Regions from separate parts of the Homo sapiens genome. Here region 2 is linked to region 1. The links are contacts of gene promoters, found by promoter capture Hi-C in blood cells and fetal thymus (Javierre and others, 2016). All regions are on one chromosome and are shown on one strand. Each heading gives the region's core, a stretch centred on a gene start or on the middle of the fragment in contact. The rest is flanking DNA. Distances are from core to core; before and after follow the strand shown.

Region 1 (3,683 bases), core at 770-3,269:
GGCTCTCATTAAGGCTATTTAGGAGAGATTAGAGCCATGCATCAAGAACAGAGATTCCAATACTCTGCCTTTTATCAGGCCCCTTCTGTACTCACTCATAACCCCTTGCTTTCTGAAGGCTCCCCACCTTTGCCCTCCCGTCCCCCAGAGCTGACCTCCTCTTGGTACCCACTCCACCAAGGCTGAGTAGTCTTCACTGCACTCCCCTGGGCTGGGAGTCTCTTACACCTGCAAGATACATCCCAGAGAGGCTGGGCATGGTCACTCATGCCTGTGGTCCCAGCACTTTGGGAGGCTGGGGCAGGCAGATCAGATCTTGAGGTCAGGAGTTTGAGACCAGCCTGGCCAAGATGGTGAAACCCCGTCTCTACTAAAAATACAAAAAAAAAATTTAGCCGGGCGTGGTGGTGCACACCTGCAGTCCCAGCTACTTGGGAGGCTGAGGCAGAAGAATCGCTTGAACCTGGGAGGTGGAGGTTGTAGTGAGCGGAGAGTGCGCCACTGCACTCCGGCCTGGGCAACAGAGCAAGCCTCCATCTCAAAAAAAAAAAAAAAAAAAAAAAAAAAAAAAATCCCAGAAAAAGGCCCCATCCATGGGCTGGATGCTCACTGCCTGGACTCCAGATAGCAGGTGCCTGTGATCCAAACCGAGGATGTTAGAGGGGCATACATACTGAAGCAGTGTCTGGTATCCATTCATTCATCAGATGTTTATTATGTGCCGGATATTGGAGTAAGTACTGAGAAGGCAGTGGGGAACAAAACGGAGCCCTGCCTTCATGGCTCTTACCATTTAGGCAACAACAGCAATAATAAGCAAGCAATGATTTAATTTTGAAAGGAAACCAGACCTGGTGGGTGACTTGGGACCCAGGAACCCAGGCATGATGCAGAGATGGGACGGAAAGGTTCTCAGGAGCCCCAGCCTGGGAGGGTGTTAGTTCCTCCGTGAGAGCTCTGCTACACCCAGCCTGGGGTGTGGGGAGGCCTCTGTGGGCACCTGAATCTTCACTCTAGATGCTAAGGTTATTCCGGGGTTGATTTGTTGTCTCTTGTTTCCACAAACAGCACAGTAGAGCCTCCTGCCTCCCTCCCTCCCCCACCTCTTCCAGACTGAGGCTATTTATTCCTAGTGACAAGCCTGAGGATCCCAGGGGGGGTGGCCTTAAGGACCTGGAGGGGCCTCGTGTCCCTAGCAGGCGCCAGTCCTCCCTCACGGACACAGGGAGGAAGCCAGAGGCTCAGACACCGCAGAGGTCCCCTCCCCTCTCCTCCACCACCCCTGAGGTGCCCCATCCTCTCACACTCCTCACACCCCACCCTAGAAGCCCAAAGATCATGGGGCCGAGGATTAGGGTCTCCCCCGGGCCTCAAAGGTCAAAACTATTCCTGGGCACTGCGGAAACCCAGGCAAGGCAGGACTTCTCAGTGTCAGGAGGCTGCTGGAAGTGGGGAGGTGGTTACCCCTGTTTTTGCTACTCAAAGTTGTGGAATAAAACCCTTTGGAGGTCAAGGCCCTATGGTGGGGAGGGGTCCTCTCTTCGTCCCATGTTTTCAGAGAACACCTTGGTGCCCGCTGACAGGCTCATGACAGCAGAGTCAAAACGTCCTCCTCCAGGCTGGATTAAGGCCGGGCTGAGTGTCACCCCTGGGGTAAGGTGAAGGGGTGGGGGGATCCGAGGAGGCCAGAGGACTCCCCCAGTGGACCATGGTCTGCGGGGTCTCGTGTCGCCGGCCTGAGATGGAATACAGCAGTCTCCCTCTGGCAGCTGGGGATGGGGGGTGGGAGGGGAGGAGAACAGAGGCTGCGGGGAGGGGACAGGGGCGGGGTCCCGGCCGCTTGAAGGTTGGGAGAGCCAGGTTAGGCCGGGCGGGAGGAGGGGGCCGGGCCGACTGGCGGCCGAAAGGGAGGTGGGGGCGGGGTCTGGCCCCCGCGGCGGGCTGGGGGGCCGGGGGCGGGGTCCGGGCGGGGCGGGCCCGCGCTCACTTCCTCGGGGAGGGGTTGGGGCCGCGCTCCCACTCGCCCACACGGTCCGTCTGCAGTCGGCAGCCTCGCCGGCAGCTCGCTCGGCCCCCGCTTGGCCCGGCCCGCAGGTAGGAGCCGCCGAGGGACGCGGCGCCCGGTTCCCGGCCCCGCCTGCGCCGCGCGCTCCCCGCTCCCGCCGCCCGCTTCGAGGTGAGCGCCCCGCCGACCCCGGCTCCCAGCCCTGGCGGTCCGCCCCCGCGCCCAGGCCGGGGAGCGAAGGGACCCGCGGAGGGCTGAGGCCAGCCGCGGCCCCGGTCCCCTGTACCCGCCGGGCTCTGGCCACGGGTGCCCGGGGCACGCCGAGCCCGGGACAGCGCCCGCCGGGACTGGACCCCTCCGGGCTATCGGGCGGGGCGGGGGCGGGGGCGGCAGCGAGAGTTGGGCGGGGGAGGGGGCTAAGTTTGAAATAGAAAAGCCGGAGAGAGACAGACAGACCGACCGACCAGAAGCGCTGGAGAAACTGAGGTTCTCGGAAAGCCCGGTGGAGCGAGAGACCGAGACAGGCAGGGACTCGAGGCACAGGAGGCTACCGAGACCACTGAAACAAGGACACACCGGGCGTACAGAGTTACTGGTGGACAGACCCGAGGCATGGGGGCCGTCCTAGGCTTTGTGGAGCATTTTCAGAAAAAGCATACGTGGGACCCCAGCGAACACATTCCCTAGGGCCCTTCCCCGGGCCTTGGAGGTGCCCTGAGGCTTGGGCGTCATTGGCCTCATGCTGAATCTGCTCTCTGAGGCCTGCAGAGACGCTCAGAGACTAGAGACAGAGACATTCAGGCGTGCAGAGGTGGCGAAAGAGACTTGGATGCAGAGACAGAGAAAGGGAGGTGGTGGGGATTGAGACATTCAGCCATGTAGACAAGAAGAGACCAAGACTTGAGATCCACAGAGGCATGGGCCCCCTGGGGGACAGCCAGTCAAGATACAGAGCCGTCCAAAACCTAAAGACAGAGACTGAAGTGTGCCCAGACACAGAGATGCTGAGTGAAGCAGAGACAGACACCAGAAACTGAGACTAAGTGGGGGCAGAGAGACCTAGGTGGTCTGACAGCTTCCAGGACAGCCCCTGACTTACCCGGGCCTGAACCATTGGGAGGTGAGGCTGTGGGGAAACAGAAACTCTGAGCCTACCGATCCCCCATGAGGCAGAGGCCCTGAGACAGTAAGTTCGAGATCAAGAAGAGCCCCACGCACACACACAGCCACCAAGACAGCCCCAACTTATTTTTGAACTCAAATCTTGGATGGGCTGCCTCAGCCCTGGGGGACCCAGGGTGAATGAACTGTTCCTCTCATGTCCCCAGAGCAGCTGCGGGATCTTGCTCCCCAACCCCCTTCCCTAAACTTCTCTGACTTCCAGGCCACATGGGGGAGAGCAGAGCTTGGGGTTGGTGCCCGGTAGCAGAGGGTGAGGGTTGAGGGAGTTGGATTTCTCCCCTTAAGTCTCCTGTCAGCTTCTAGAAGGTGGGGGAGGGGTCTGTTCTGATCCTGACTCACAGCTGTGGGACCTGGCCAGGGTCCTCCTGGACAGTGGGCATGTTGGGGGTGGGGGCAGAAGGATTGAATGGTTGGCATGGGGCATTGGAAAGGCTTCTGGGTGTCTTCCAATCACAGGGCTAGCAGCTGAGGAGAAGAGCCAGGCTCTGGTGCATCT
Region 2 (3,683 bases), core at 539-3,038, 800 kb before region 1:
CTCCATAGCAGGTCGGAAGAGGCTGAGGATCTGGTTGTGTGGATGATGAGAAAGCCCTGAAGATGTTGCAGCAGAGGGATGGTGCAGTTTGGATCCTGTATTCTAAGCCTCGGACCCACAGGGCAGTCCTAGAAGTGAAGGTGGTGGTTGGGCACGGTCACATAGAAACAAGGGCTGCTACGACTCAGGAGCCCTGCTGGTTCTGGCCATGGGCCTGTGCTGAGTAGACAGGATAGCCCCTCCCCACAAACTCCTGCTAGAAGCCAGGAATTGTATCCCTACAAAGCTACTGGGTTTGCTTCTTCCATAGTGGGTGAATTTCCAGATTTTTTTTTTTTTCTGAGAAAGAGTCTTGCTCTGCTGCCCAGGCTGAAGTGCAGTGATGCGAACTCAGCTCACTGCAACCTCTGCCTCCCAGGTTCAAGCAATTCTCTGCCTCAGCCTTCTGAGTAGCTGGGACTATAGGCATGCACCACCATGCCCAGCTAATTTTTGTATTTTTTGTAGAGAGGGGTTTCTCCATGTTGGCTAGGCTGGTCTTGAACTCCTGGCCTCAAGTGATCCACCTGCTTTGGCCTACTGGGATTACAGGCATGAGCCACTGCACCTAGCCCAGACTTTTTTTTTTATTTTTTTTAAATAAAACAAAAATGAATGGCCAGGTGTGGTGGCTTACAGTGTAATCCCAGGACGTTGGGAAGCCGAAGTGGTAGGCTCACTTAAGCCCAGGAGTTTGAGATGGGCCTAGGCAACATAGTAAGACCTTGTCTCTACAAAAAATAAAAAAAGTAGCCAGGTATGGGTGGTGCACACCTGTAGCCTCAGCTACTCAGGAGGCAGAGGCAGGAGGATCGATTGAGCCCACGAGGTTGAGGCTGCAGTGAGCCGTGATTGCACCACTGCACTCCAGCCTGGGTGACAGAGCAAGACTCTGTCTTAGGGAAAAAAAAAAAAAAGAGCTCGTTTTGAGTGTTTGTATGTATGAGTAGGCATATTGGAGGCAGTGTATACCAGGATGGTTAGGAACACATGCTCTGGAGTCAGATGATGTAGGCTGGAACCCACCTCTATACTATAGTTTTCTTGGTGTAAAAAGAGAAATGTAATAGGGCTCTCGTGCAGATTAATTGAAATATTGCATTGAAGACAGGAGGGTGCCTGGCATTGGAAAACACCAATGTTCAATGTTAGTGGTCATTTTCCATGTGGTTATTTCCAAGATGGCTTGGGAAGATATTTTGTCCTGAGGAACAGCCCAGGGCAGTCACACAGCACTGGCTCTTAGGCTGCAGAGCCTGCCCTGGGTTGAGAGCAACAGAGAAATCAGAGGGCCCAAAGGCTAATGCCAGGTATCAAGCCTTTGATGTGTGGATTTTGATGGCCATGGTTAAGTCTGAAAAGCTTGCTGCTTGGGACTGAAGTCAGACCTTTCTGTTCTTTCATCCATTCCACAAATTATTATTAATGGCTTGCCATGGCCAGGCATTGTCCAGATGATGTTGTCTGCACGTGGAAGTAACTGAACCTCTGCACAGGCTGGACTTGGCATTGTGTAACTCCTGCCCAAGGCATGGCCCTTCACGATCTATGGAAGCGTTGTGGTGCATGCCTGTGGCAGGATCTGTTTTTGACAAATGAATGAATTTTGCTTTGTTTCTATTCCTCAATCCCTGTGCTCCAAGCCAATAGCCTGGCCCTTCCACTTCCTCTGCCTCAGGGATTCTTACAGGAGGCAAAGCAGGAGTTGATTGACGAGCTAAGTCTCTTCTGTAAAAGTCAAAGCCCCTTGCATAAATGATGCTGAGTGTCTTAGAGAGTGGGAAGCACCTTGGAAAACATTGAGAGAGAGAAGATAGAGCCTCATGGTCCCTCCAAGGGAGTCACAGGGATCTATGTCCAGGAGAGATGACATGACCTCAGAGGGCAGGCTGAGTCTTGTGGAAGTAGCAGAGCCAACTGGCTGGCTAGCACTATAAGGCTGGGATCCCCAGGCATCTCTGCAGGAACAAGTAGGGCAGATGACTGATGGGTGACCAGAAGCCCTCTCTGGGGCTTGATGTGGCAGAAGACTCCAGGATCCTAGAGCAACCCCAAGGCAGAGAAGACCCCTATTAATGACAGATTAAATTTCCCCTGGTTTAGAGGGCTGGGTCCTCAGAGCTGGACTTAAGCTTAACAAACATAAAAGTATTCCTTGGACACTTGAGTTTGAAGATTACAACTTAATACCTGCTGCACTGACTCTCCATTTTAGCCACACAATCCCAAGAGGGAAGTAGGGCAGGCACTGATAACCACCTGACAGGTGAATAAGCGTGCTCAGAGGAGAAGTGCAAGCCAGAGATGTGTTCCAGAGACCCAGGAGGAATGTGGATGGCATTGTTGCGAAGGGCTGGCAGGTCAGGACGCAGGCCAGGGCTGTAGCCGAAACACCTGTGAGGAGCCAGCCTTTCTGAGGACAGCTGGGGCGGAGGCTGGGGAGTGCAGTCGCTCATTCAACACAGATATGATGCATGGGGACAGTGCTGGGTCCTCAACACGGAGCACTGTAGCTCTCCTCTGCCGCCCTCCATGAGCACCCTCCCCCACATCGATGGGGTTGCTCTGGGGGCTCTGGAAGCCCAGAGGCGGGGAAAGAGTGAAATTCTCCTAGGCTGGAGGTTGGTGGGAGCTGGAGATGGGAGGTTGGAGGGGTGGTTTCCAGAGGCTGTGATATCTGAGCTGCAGCTTGGAGGACAGGTAAGTGTTAGCCAGGTGGATGAAGGATGATGGGGGCTCCAGGCAGGAGGAAAAGTGTAGAGGTAAGACAGGGTAGGTTGAGGGATCCCAAGAGACTGGGTGAGGGCAGCCTTGTAGGTGGAAGACAGCAGGACGGGACAAGGCATGGCAGGCTGTGAATCCGGATCTGTGCAGGTGTGCAGGTGTGTGTGTGTCAGGGAGAAGGACGATGTGGCTGACCATTGTCTTGGGAAAAATTTCCAATTCATGACCATGGCCCACAAGACCCTTCCTGATCTGGCCCTGTAATCTGCCCTCTGACCCCATCGCATGACCCTGTCCCCTCACACTCTATTTTCCAGCCTTCTGACCTTCTCCAGTTCCCCCATAACACCTCTTCTCTTGTCAGATCTTTGAGTCACACATGCTGTTCCCTCTGCCTGGAATTCAATTCTTCCTTGCCCCTAACCTGCCTAACTTTTTTTTTTTTTTTTTTTTTTGAGACGGAGTCTCGCTCTGTCACCCAGGCTGGAGAGCAGTGGCACGATCTTGGCTCACTGCAAGCTCCGCCTCCCGGGTTCATGCCGTTCTCCTGCCTCAGCCTCCCGAGTAGCTGGGACTACAGGTACCCGTCACCACGCCTGGCTAATTTTTTTTTTTTTTGTATTTTTAGTAGAGACGGGGTTTCACCTTGTTAGACAGGATGGTCTCGATCTCCTGACCTCATGATCCACCTGCCTCAGCCTCCCAAAGTGCTGGGATTACAGGTGTGAGCCACCGCTCCTGGCCTAACTTTTAAAATAATTTTCACTTGCACAAGTAATGCATGATCTCATTCTCTTTTTTTAGAAAATTTTATATACATATCATTTACATACCATACAATTCACCTGTTAACAGTGCACAATGCAATCAATGGTTTTTAGTATACTTACAAAGTTGTACAACTATTACCACTACCTAAT

The links. The method cuts DNA at HindIII sites, captures the fragments that hold promoters and counts their contacts. A CHiCAGO score of 5 or more calls a contact.
Region 2: a contact is called between a fragment that was not itself captured here and the fragment with the promoter of FHL3 in region 1, in 1 of 17 cell types (endothelial precursors). The highest score is 5.7, in endothelial precursors.

What each region holds. Positions count from the first base shown.
Region 1 is chr1:38,003,850-38,007,532 of GRCh38, reverse strand. It overlaps FHL3 (four and a half LIM domains 3), which reads left to right and starts at 2,019. Exons shown (of 6, transcript NM_004468.5): 1 at 2,019-2,176. RefSeq lists silencers at 1,899-1,958, 1,989-2,348 and an enhancer at 3,201-3,683. The HindIII fragment of the contact is 9,980 bases long and covers 1-3,683 here.
Region 2 is chr1:38,806,542-38,810,224 of GRCh38, reverse strand. No RefSeq gene overlaps it. Among named protein-coding and RNA genes, the nearest start is that of RRAGC, 51 kb to the left of the region's middle. The HindIII fragment of the contact is 770 bases long and covers 1,404-2,173 here.